Linked DNA regions of Homo sapiens: region 1 is linked to region 2. The links are contacts of gene promoters, found by promoter capture Hi-C in blood cells and fetal thymus (Javierre and others, 2016). All regions are on one chromosome and are shown on one strand. The core of a region is centred on a gene start or on the middle of the fragment in contact, and the rest is flanking DNA. Distances in the headings are between cores, read along the strand shown.

Region 1 (5,228 bases), core at 1,094-3,593, 49 kb before region 2:
TGCCTGTAATCTCAGCTACTCGGGAGGCTGAGGCAGGAGAATTGCTTGAACCCAGGAGACGGAAGTTGCAGTGAGCCCACACGGTGCCACTGCACTCCAGCCTCGGCGACAAGAGTGAGACTCCGTCTCAAAAAGAAAGAAAAAATCCCAGACAGTGAAAGAGAAGCTACTCGTCTAGTACAACTCTTAACTTGTACCAAATAGGTATCAAGGGCAAGAAAAGGTGGCTTATGTGAGATCACAGTGCACATTAATGGCAGAGCTTGGTTTAAGCCCAGCTGCTTTGTCTTCTAAACTGTGCCATATACTGCCTGCAAATGTGCTTCTGTTTTACATGGTCTTAAGAGCTTTTCCCACTCTTTCTCAAGACCATTGCCATGTGTGCTGTAAAGCCGTTTTACTTGTGGATTTTACATGGATCACTGTTAGAATGTCATAAAATGATATCATAAAAGATCAACTTTCCTGGCCGGGCATGGTAGCTCACACCTGTAATCCCAGCACTTTGGGAGGCCAAGGCAGGTGGATCACCTGAGGTCGGGAATTCGAGACCAGCCTGACCAACATGGAGAAACCCCATCTCTACTAAAAATACAAAAAATTAGCTGGGCGTGGTGGCACATGCCTGTAATTGCAGCTACTCGGGAGGCTGAGGTAGGAGAATCGCTTGAACCCGGGAGTTGGAGGTTGCGGTGAGCTGAGATCGTGCCATTGCACTCTAGCCTGGGCAAAAGGAGCGAAACTCCATCTCAAAAAAAAAAAAAAAAAAAAAGGATCAACTTTTGGTCAGGCGTGTTGGCTTACGCCTGTAATTCCAGCGCTTTGGGAGGCCGAGGCAGGCAGATCACGAGGTCAGGAGTTCAAGATCACCCTGGCCAACATGGTGAAACCCCGTCTCTACTAAAAATACAAAAGTTACCTGGGCATAGTGGCAGATGCTTGTAATCCCAGCTACTCGGGAGGCTGAGGCAGGAGAATTGCTTGTGAACCGGGACCCTGGAGGCAGAGGTTGCAGTGAGCCAAGATCGCACAACTGCGAACTGCGCTCCAGCGTGGGCTGCAGAGGCAGACTCCGTCTCAAGAAAAAAAAAAATCAGCTTTCTTTCCTTCCCCTGAATCTTCTGCAGTGCCAGTTTCATCCTCAGGCCCACTTGTTTCATGTAGACAAAAGGCCAACCAGGTTTCATATTCACGTATCAACCCCTGCAGTAGGAGAAAAGGCCACTCCTAGGAGCTCTGGTATTTTCCAGAAGCTTTCAGTCAGCCTTCCCTTGTATCAGCCCAAATCAAGTCACATGAAATTTCTAAGCCAGCCCCTGTGATCAGGGAATGCCATTCTATAACACAAGTTCCCTAAAGCAGTAACTATAGAAGAAAGAATTACCCTAATTGTTTCAGGCCAATTAAGGCCCATCCTAGAGGTGGAAATGGGGTCAGCATACTCAGAAGCAAAGAAGTAGAGAGAGTTGGATACCTGAATAAAATTGGGAAAAGTTACAAAGAGAGGAATGGATGCTGGAGAGGAACCACCAGTTTCTACTACGATAACCTATTTACTTCATTTTAAACGGTGATATTTTAAACGTGGGAACATTTTGCCTAGTGAGTTTTTTTCTTTGAGAAACGTAGCAGTATCTTGTAACAAAGAAGATATGGGGACACTCTGTCATCAAAAACTACTTTGGGGCCGGGCATGGTGGCTCACACCTGTAATCCCAGCACTTTGGGAGGCCAAGGTGGGTGGATCACCTGAGGTCAGGAGTTCAAGACCAGCCTGGCCACCATGGTGAAACCCCACCTCTACTAAAAATTACAAAAATTAGCTGGGCGTGGTGGTACATGACTGTAATCTCAGCTACTTGGGAGGCTGAAGCAGGAGAATTGCTTGAACCCGGGAATCAGAAGCTGCAGTGAGCCGGGATCACACCACTGCACTCCAGCCTGGGTGACAGAGCAAGGCTCTGTCTCAATAACAACAACAAAAAAACAGAAACAAACAAAACAAAACAAACTACTGTTGGAGGTAGGAACTGGCCCAGGGGCTGTATTCCCAGAACACGATTCCCTTTTCCCCACTGCAAACAAGATAGTCTACAGCAGCCTCACAACTTAATTGTCTCACACAGGACTATTCCTACTGTTAAGAGATCACAGCTAAGGCTTGGGCACCTTGACCTGCTGTAGAAGCTCAGTTAATGTACTTTTCATCATCTGGGCCCTGGTATTCCCCTGTAAATACTGAAGTAGACCCAGTGACCTAGTGCCCAAGACACAAAATATTCAGCCTCCGTAACATTTGTCTAATGACATGGTTCTAGCTTTGCTCACTCCCATTAATTTCAAGTGAGTACTGGCTAGGCAGTCTATAGTGACTTGATTACACTGTCTTTCTTGTCCTGTGCTGTCCTGAGAATCCTGGATTTGAAGCAGCCTATGAATAAGGTTTGAAAAATATTTATCCAACTATGCCGACATATGATGTTCTAGCACTGCATCTGTCATCTATCACCCGCACCTTAATAAATGATAATTACTTGTGCAAACATGATGTATTAATCACTTATTAACTTGGTTGCTTACTTGACAGACACTGCTAGGTGGTTTGCCTATGCTGTACTTCGACAGATCCTGGGAAAGAACAGCCTGGCTCATTATGCCCTGGAGGCAGGAGCAGAGATTTCAGACTTCTGATTTCTGTGAGCCATTCCACACTTTCCTCTCGGTTAGGGGAGGGACAGCAATAACCAGAGGATGAAGGTGGAACCTTTGCAGTGCACACCTAGGCCAGTGCAGTGGCTTATGCCTGTAATCCCAGCACTTTGGGAGGCTGAGGCGGGTGGATCACTTGAAGTCAGGAGTTTAAGACCAGCCTGACCAATATGGCGAAACCCTGTTTCTACTACAAATACAAATATTCGCTGGGCATGGCAATGCATGCCTGTAGTCCCAGCTACTTGGGAGGCTGAGGCCTGAGAATTGCTTGAACCCAGGAGGCAGAGGTTGCAGTGAGCCAAGATCATGCCACTGCATTCCAGCCTGGGCGACAGAGATTCCATCTTGAAAAATAAAGTTCCAAATACCTAAATGCTCAAACTTTAGGAGGCAGCTCTCTGGGCTGTGGGCTGTCAGCATCCCCCTCCTAGATTCCAGGGATTTGGTTACATAGTTCTTTAGCTGTAATGCAGAGTATAAATTTTAGAACCCACATGGCCCCAAATTCAAATTGTTTTAATGCATGTAACTAGTGACTAAAAACTTAGAATTTCAATTTACATCCAAGAGGTGGCACCATAACACAACAGCAAAAAGCCACACAAACTGAAACTCGTTTCCTTTTGTAGTGAACAGCACTATTAGGTAGTCTGCAGTGCCTGACTACGGGCTCACATGCTGTGATCCTTCTCGTTTTCTCAGAGCCATTCCTTAAGCTTAGTCCCCTTGTATCTTAAATTTAGCTCAGGTCGGAGTGTTGTTAACTTGGGGCCAGCTGGGTTCGTGAGAGTCTCAGCCCATTGCCATGGTGGAGTCAGCATGGTCTTGAGTTCCTTCCTTAACTCTGCAGGTTTCAGAAATCCACGTAGCCAGTGTTTCTGAAAATGGATCTAGGCTGGGCAATTGGCAAGGAGCTAATTTCTTATCAAGATGCCAGCTTATTAACTTGAGTGAAGAACACAACTGCCAAATAGACTGTATAGTGGGATCTGCTAGTGAGAACATTCTGTCCCTTTGGGAAATCTCTTTAAGAGAATCATCATTTGAAGGCTGCTTGGAGAGCCTGGAATCAGAGCCAGGGAAATTAGGGGCCAGGGTAAGGGAGCTATGACCATCTATAGCTCCCATTTCTGCTGCAGGGATGGACCTATGGTATCAGCCAGCCACAGAAGGTCTTTTGGGACAACACTGGAGATAATGATCCTTCATAGTACAGGAACTCCCTTTTTCTAGGTTGCAGGAAGACCACCTATTTCTACCCACATAGGCATTCCTCAGACAATCCTCATAATTTAGTTATTAAGGGTTTTTGCATTTTATAATCCTGTCTGCCTCAGGGTCCATCGGTCCCCTAGATAGAGTTTGGGGAGGGAAGAATCCCCAAACTTTGCAGCCACAAGTTACGTACTCCCTGGTCATTTCTACAGAAAACTAATCTGTGATGTGTTTTTACTATCGCAGTGACGTTCAAACTGTTTCAAAGCCTTAGGTTTCCCCAGAGATGCCTAGGGGGATTGGGGCACTGTGGACAATAAGGGAGTGAGTCAAGTCAACAGAAATGCTAGCTAGCCTTTAGTTCTCTTCTACAGCCGTACTGGGTGGCATGTACACGTGATAGCTGCTCACACCACATGTGGCTATTGAGCACTTGAAATGTGGCTAACATAATTTAAAAGTAAAAGGTAAGGCTGGCCATGTTGGCTCACGCTTGTAATCCCAGCACTTTGGGAAGCTGAGGTAGGAGGATAGTTTGTGGCCAGGAGTTTGAGACCAGCTTGGGCGACGTGGTAAGACCCCATTTCTCCAAAAAAAATTAAAAAAATTAACTAGGCATGGTGGTGTGTGCCTGTAGTCTCAGCTACTTGCGAGGCTGAGGCAGGAGGATCACTTGAGCTCAGGAGTTCGACGTAGTGAGCCATGATTGCGCCACTGCACTCCAGCTTGGGTGAGAGGGCAAGACGCTGTCTCAAATAAATAAAAATGAGCCCCCTCCCCCTCCCCCTCCCCCTCTCCCTCACCCTCTCCCTCTCCCCACGGTCTCCCTCTGATGCCAAGCCAAAGCTGGACTGTACTGCTGCCATCTCGGCTCACTGCAACCTCCCTGCCTGATTCTCCTGCCTCAGCCTGCCCAGTGCCTGTGATTGCAGGCGCGCGCCGCCACGCCTGACTGGTTTTGGTGGAGACGGGGTTTCGCTGTGTTGGCCGGGCCGGTCTCCAGCCCCTAACCACGAGTGATCCGCCAACCTCGGCCTCCCGAGGTGCCGGGATTGCAGACGGAGTCTCGTTCACTCAGTGCTCAATGGTGCCCAGGCTGGAGTGCAGTGGCGTGATCTCGGCTCACTACAACCTACACCTCCCAGCCGCCTGCCTTGGCCTCCCAAAGTGCCGAGATTGCAGCCTCTGCCCGGCCGCCACCCCGTCTGGGAAGTGAGGAGTGTCTCTGCCTGGCCGCCCATCGTCTGGGATGTGAGGAGCCCCTCTGCCTGGCTGCCCAGTCTGGAAAGTGAGGAGCGTCT
Region 2 (5,090 bases), core at 1,755-4,254:
AATATATTTCTATGTTACTATATAGGCTTCACAAATATAATGTAATAGCTGCATAATACCCGACAGTTATCCCTTTAATTAATGGCTTTAATAATACATTTGTTTCATATGCAGTTGAAAGAACTGACCTTTTATGGTTAGAAAAAAAAATGTTTGAAGTCCCTGGACCAGCCATACCAGAAATCTGAGCACACTAATAACAACATTATGCATGTACATGGTGAGCCTAATTTTGCTGTTGAAAGTAAAAATACAGGCCGGGCATGGTGGCTCACGCCTATAATCCCAGCACTTTGGGAGGCCGAGGCAGGCGGATCACAAGGTCTGGAGATCGAGACCATCCTAGCTAACATGGTGAAACCCCATCTCTACTAAAACTACAAAAAAGTAGCCAGGTGTGGTGGCATGCGCTTGTAGCCCCAGCTACTCGGGAGGCTGAGGCAGGAGAATTGCATGAACCCAGGAGGCAGAAGTTGCAGTGAGCCAAGATTGCGCCACTGCACTCCAGCCTGGGCAACAGAGTGAGACTCCGTCTCAAAAAAAAAAAAAAAAGAAAAAGAAAAAGAAAGTAAAAATACGTAGATTATAGGTTTTGAAATCAATTTAGTAGGTTATGAGCAGTACTGCTTTTAAAAATAGAACAGAATGGGCCGGGCACGGTGGCACACGCCTGTAATCCCAGCACTTTGGGAGGCTGAGGTGGGCCGATCACGAGGTCAAGAGATGGAGACCATCCTGGCCAACATGGTGAAATCCTGTCTCTACTAAAAATACAAAAATTAGCTGGGGTGGTGGTGCGCGCCTGTAGTCCCAGCTACTTGGGAGGCTGAGGCAGGAGAATCGCTTGAACCTGGGAGGCGGAGGTTGTGGTGCCCTGAGATCATGCCACTGCACTCCAGCCTGGTGACAGAGCAACACTCTGTCTCAACAACAACAACAACAAAACAGAATGATGTCTGAATGCCTGCCTGGCAAGTGAGAGGATAAACATTGTTTTATATAACTTTTTGTTTCTATTTTATATCGATATACCTATAGACATAGTATGTATGTGCTGAAGTATGTACCAGGTTGCAGGTTGTAGTGTAAAATATATTTCTTACTGTGGATTGTAGTTTAAAAAAATGAAAAACTCGGCCAGGCACGGTGGCTCATGCCTGTAGTCCCAGCCCTTTGGGAGGCCGAGGCGGGTGGATCACGAGGTCAGGAGATCGAAACATGGTGAAACCCTGTCTCTACTAAAAATACAAAAAAAAAAAAAAACTGGGCGTGGTGGCATGCGCCTGCAGTCGCAGCTACTGGGGAGGCTGAGGCAGTAGAATCGCTTGAATCTGGGAGGTGGGGGTTGCAGTGAGCCGAGATCACGCCACTGCCACTGCACTCTAGCCTGGGTGAGCAGAGTGAGACTCCGTCTCAAAAAAAAAATAATAAAAATAAAATAAAAATGAAAAACTCTGATTTCAGTGGCTTGCCTTTGAAGTTATTCGAACACTTCAGAATCCTCAGGTATTACCTGATAAATGACTTGTTCAGTGTTCTACAAGCTCACTTTCCTGATATTGCTGATTACTATGCATGGAGGATTTGGAAACTCCCAAGATTATTTTATTTTTTACAAACTTATTTTGTATTTATTTATTTATTTTTTTGAGACAGTCTGGCTCTTTTCACCAGGCTAGAGTGCAGTGGCATGATCTCGGCTCGCTGCAACCCCTGCCTCCTGGGTTCAAGCGATTCTCCTGCATCAAGCCTCCCGAGTAGCTGGGAGTAGCTGGGACTACAGGAGCACGCCACCACACCCGGCTATTTATGTATTTAATTAATTAATTTATTTATTTTTTGAGACGGAGTCTCGCTCTGTTGCCCAGGCTGGAGTGCAGTGGTGCGATCTCGGCTCACTACAAGATCCGCCTTCCAGGTTCACGCGATTCTTGTGCGTCAGCCTCCGGAGTAGCTGGGACTACAGGCGCCTGTCTCCACGCCCGGCTAATTTTTTTTGTGTGTGTGTATTTTTAGTAGAGACGGGGTTTCACCGTGTTAGCCAGGATGGCCTCGATCTCCAGACCTCGTGATTCGCCCGCCTCGGCCTCCCAAAGTGCTGGGATTACAGGCGTGAGCCACCGCGCCCGACCTGTCCCTTGACTTTTTTACTGTCCTGAGATGCCAGGCTTATGTGGGCGGTGTGTTCCCAGCAGAAGATGATCCCGTGGAAGTCCCGGGGGATGAAGGTTAGGTTAGTCCCAGTGCCAGCCTTTGGTAGAAACTCAGGACCTGATAGGTAGAAAGGCGACGAAGAGAGCCTGCTCTTCTTCAAGTTCTACTTTTGCCATCCTAATTCCCCTCGCTCTAAGGATAAAACCAAGCTTGATGAAGCCGCCTTAAAACTGCCCCTTCAAGTGGGAGCCCTCATCTCATTTTTATCCAGGAAAGAGCCCAGAGCATCTGCCGCGGCCTGTAGGCTCTTCTCTGCCAGGCTGGCTTCCGAAATTTCACGGTGGCGGGTACCTTAAGGCCACTCGGCCGGGCAACTGGCAGGAAGATGAAGGTGGGCTTTAAGGAGGAGCACAGCTATGCCCATCTCAGACTCTGGAGACCCGAACGAACTCTAATCTGAATGTGTGACCTTGGGCAAATCACTTACCCTCCCCAGGCCTCGGTTCCCTTATCTGCAAAGTAAAGGTAGCCCTAAAGTCCCCGCCAGGTGTGAATGGGACTTTAAGTCCATCAGGCAGGATGTTGATGGCACTGCGCCAGGGCCCCGGGTCGGCGTGGGGCGGGGGCGCGCCAACGCGGGGCCGGCACCGAGGACTGGGTGGCCCGGGAGAAAAGCGGCGACTGCGCGGCTGCGCGGGGGACGGTGCACACAGTGCTGCGCCCCCCGCCTCTTGGCTCGCTGCCGCGGCCCGGGGGCCACGAGGTTACGTAAGGAGCCGGGCGGGGGTAGCGGCTGGGGAGGGCGGGGCGGGCACCGCCCCAGCGCGGCCGCCCAGCCCCCGCCCGCCCGCGCCTGGCGGCGGTGGCGGCAGTGGCAGCAGTGGCAGCCGCGCAGCCCCGCGGAATGGAGCGGCGCCGGGGCTGAGCCGGGCGCGCACGGGCCGCCGCATGTGCCGCGCGGGGAGCGGCTGCCGAGCGGGCGGAGAGCGAGCGCGAGAGGCCCCGTCGGAGCGGCCGCCGGAGCAGCGCCGGAGATGGGGTGAGTGAGCCCGCGCCGCGCGCTCTCCGCGCGCCCCTCCGGAGGGACTGCGGGGCCGCGGCTGGCGTAACCGGGCTCGGAGCCTCCCGGCGGGCCGGCCCCCGCCTCCCCAAGCCGGAGCGAGCGCACACTCTGCGCCCGGGAGTCTGGGGCCACCTGACCCGCGCCCTCCGCCGGGGCACGCGGACACCCAGCAGGGGCACCCTGGCCTGGGCGCGGAGCCCGTGGCCCTTCCCCTCCCATACAGCCCGGGCACGGGGGCACCTGACGGGGACCGGTGCCCTGGCCGGCCTCCTGCCTCGGCCATTCCGCGGTCTCTTCGCCCCTGGGCGCAGTCAACTCCAGGGCCTGTGTGAGTCTAAGCAGTTTGTCGTTCTCCACGTTTGGATTTATTACAAGCAAAATGGAAATCGAAGTTTTCCTGGAAATAATCAAATAATAATAAACCTCCAGCGTAGGAATAGTGGACTTTGGATCTGCTTTGAGATGCTGAAGATGATGGAAGTCTATAAGGAACCTAGGTGAGGCTTCAGTCTTTGAAACAACTGAGTAGATGCTCAGGAGGGAAGTTGAAATACTCTGTCGAAGTGACTAATGCTTCTGAGTATATAAAGTAATTTAAGCTTTCCCCTCGGCGTCTCTCTGAGCAGTAGGCTCTGTGAGTCTGGGAGCCACTGTGCTAATAGCACAATAACTCCTTACATCTGCTCACTCTATTTGGGCACACGTTGACGGTTTGCCATACGTATTCAGGGGACACTTATGTCCACTTTACAGATGAGGAAACTGAGGCACAAAGTGGTTCGGTGACTTCCCCCAGGCTGTGTAGTTGATGAGCATTTGTGTAGCAGGGGTGGCCTTGCCACTGCCTGACGTGGGCATGGAGGCGGGTAAGTGAACCAGAATTCCTAAATCTCTCTGTTCCCTGCTGCTGAACCCAGCATTCTTCCAACAGCCCTTCGCAGGACTCAAATGCTTCTGCTCCAAGGGTCTAGAGATCTTGCTTTCCTGTTTGGGATGGGTGGGGCCTGGGAAGGCAAGAGTGCAGTGGAAGGAGCAAGATTGTCCTGGTGCCCTGGCTCAGCCCCCCTGGGTCAGTGGCTTTCTTGCACCGTACTCCAGGTTAAGTTTCTGGAGTCATTTTGCCTGGTGAGTCTTAGCCATGGGAGCTGCAGAGTGTGTGAGGGGATCAGAGGCAGGCCAAGAGGAATTTTGAGGAATGGAAGTGTGAGGGCTGTGGGCCAACATGAACTGGACATGACAGAGGTGGGTGACAGAGAGGAGGAGGCGAGATGAGCAGCGAGGGCTGAAGAAGTGTGCTTACATTTAGGAGATTTCACATGAACAGCAACTGTGGGTGATTTTACCCAGAGGCACCCAAGTTGGCAGGCCGTATTTCTGTAACATTTCCAGTGAGTCCTCAGTGGACTGTGAAAAGGCTGATCTTTGAGCAGTGAGAGCCTTTGAGGTTCTCAGATTTCATACTTTAAAAAAATGTACAGGGAAAAAGGAGTTGGCAAATGTAAGGTCTCAGAATGGAAGATAAAAGGGATCCGGTAATTTTAACTCTCTTTCTGGCCCTCCCTCCCCCTGGCCAACACAAAACCAATCCACCGTACTTGTGTGATCAAAAACAAGTACTGAAACTCTGTGGTTGAGATCAAATAGTTCTGTGGAAATGAAAATGTTTACTCACTCATAAAACCTTAAAGAAAATGTCAAAAAATAATTTTTGTTTGTGGAGAAGCAGGGAGGAGACGCTTGGGGATTTTGTTTAAACACAGAATATGTCTTTCATGTAATTTTAACATCATTCGATAAATGTATATATTACTCACTTCTCGTAGATAAAGGCTGGTTTGTAACTCCTACCTACCTCTGCCATTTTTAATAGATC

The links. The method cuts DNA at HindIII sites, captures the fragments that hold promoters and counts their contacts. A CHiCAGO score of 5 or more calls a contact.
Region 1: a fragment that was not itself captured here is called in contact with the fragment with the promoter of HOMER2 in region 2 in 1 of 17 cell types (M2 macrophages); the score reaches 5.2 in M2 macrophages.

Annotation. Positions count from the first base shown.
Region 1 is chr15:82,998,666-83,003,893 of GRCh38, reverse strand. C15orf40 (chromosome 15 open reading frame 40) reads left to right here. Exons shown (of 4, transcript NM_144597.3): 4 at 1-5,228. Among named protein-coding and RNA genes, the nearest start is that of C15orf40, 10 kb to the left of the region's middle. RefSeq lists a silencer at 3,183-3,477. The HindIII fragment of the contact is 2,175 bases long and covers 1,256-3,430 here.
Region 2 is chr15:82,950,634-82,955,723 of GRCh38, reverse strand. HOMER2 (homer scaffold protein 2) reads left to right here and starts at 3,004. Exons shown (of 9, transcript NM_004839.4): 1 at 3,004-3,193. The coding sequence starts at 3,189. RefSeq lists an enhancer at 3,254-3,754. The HindIII fragment of the contact is 1,453 bases long and covers 2,366-3,818 here.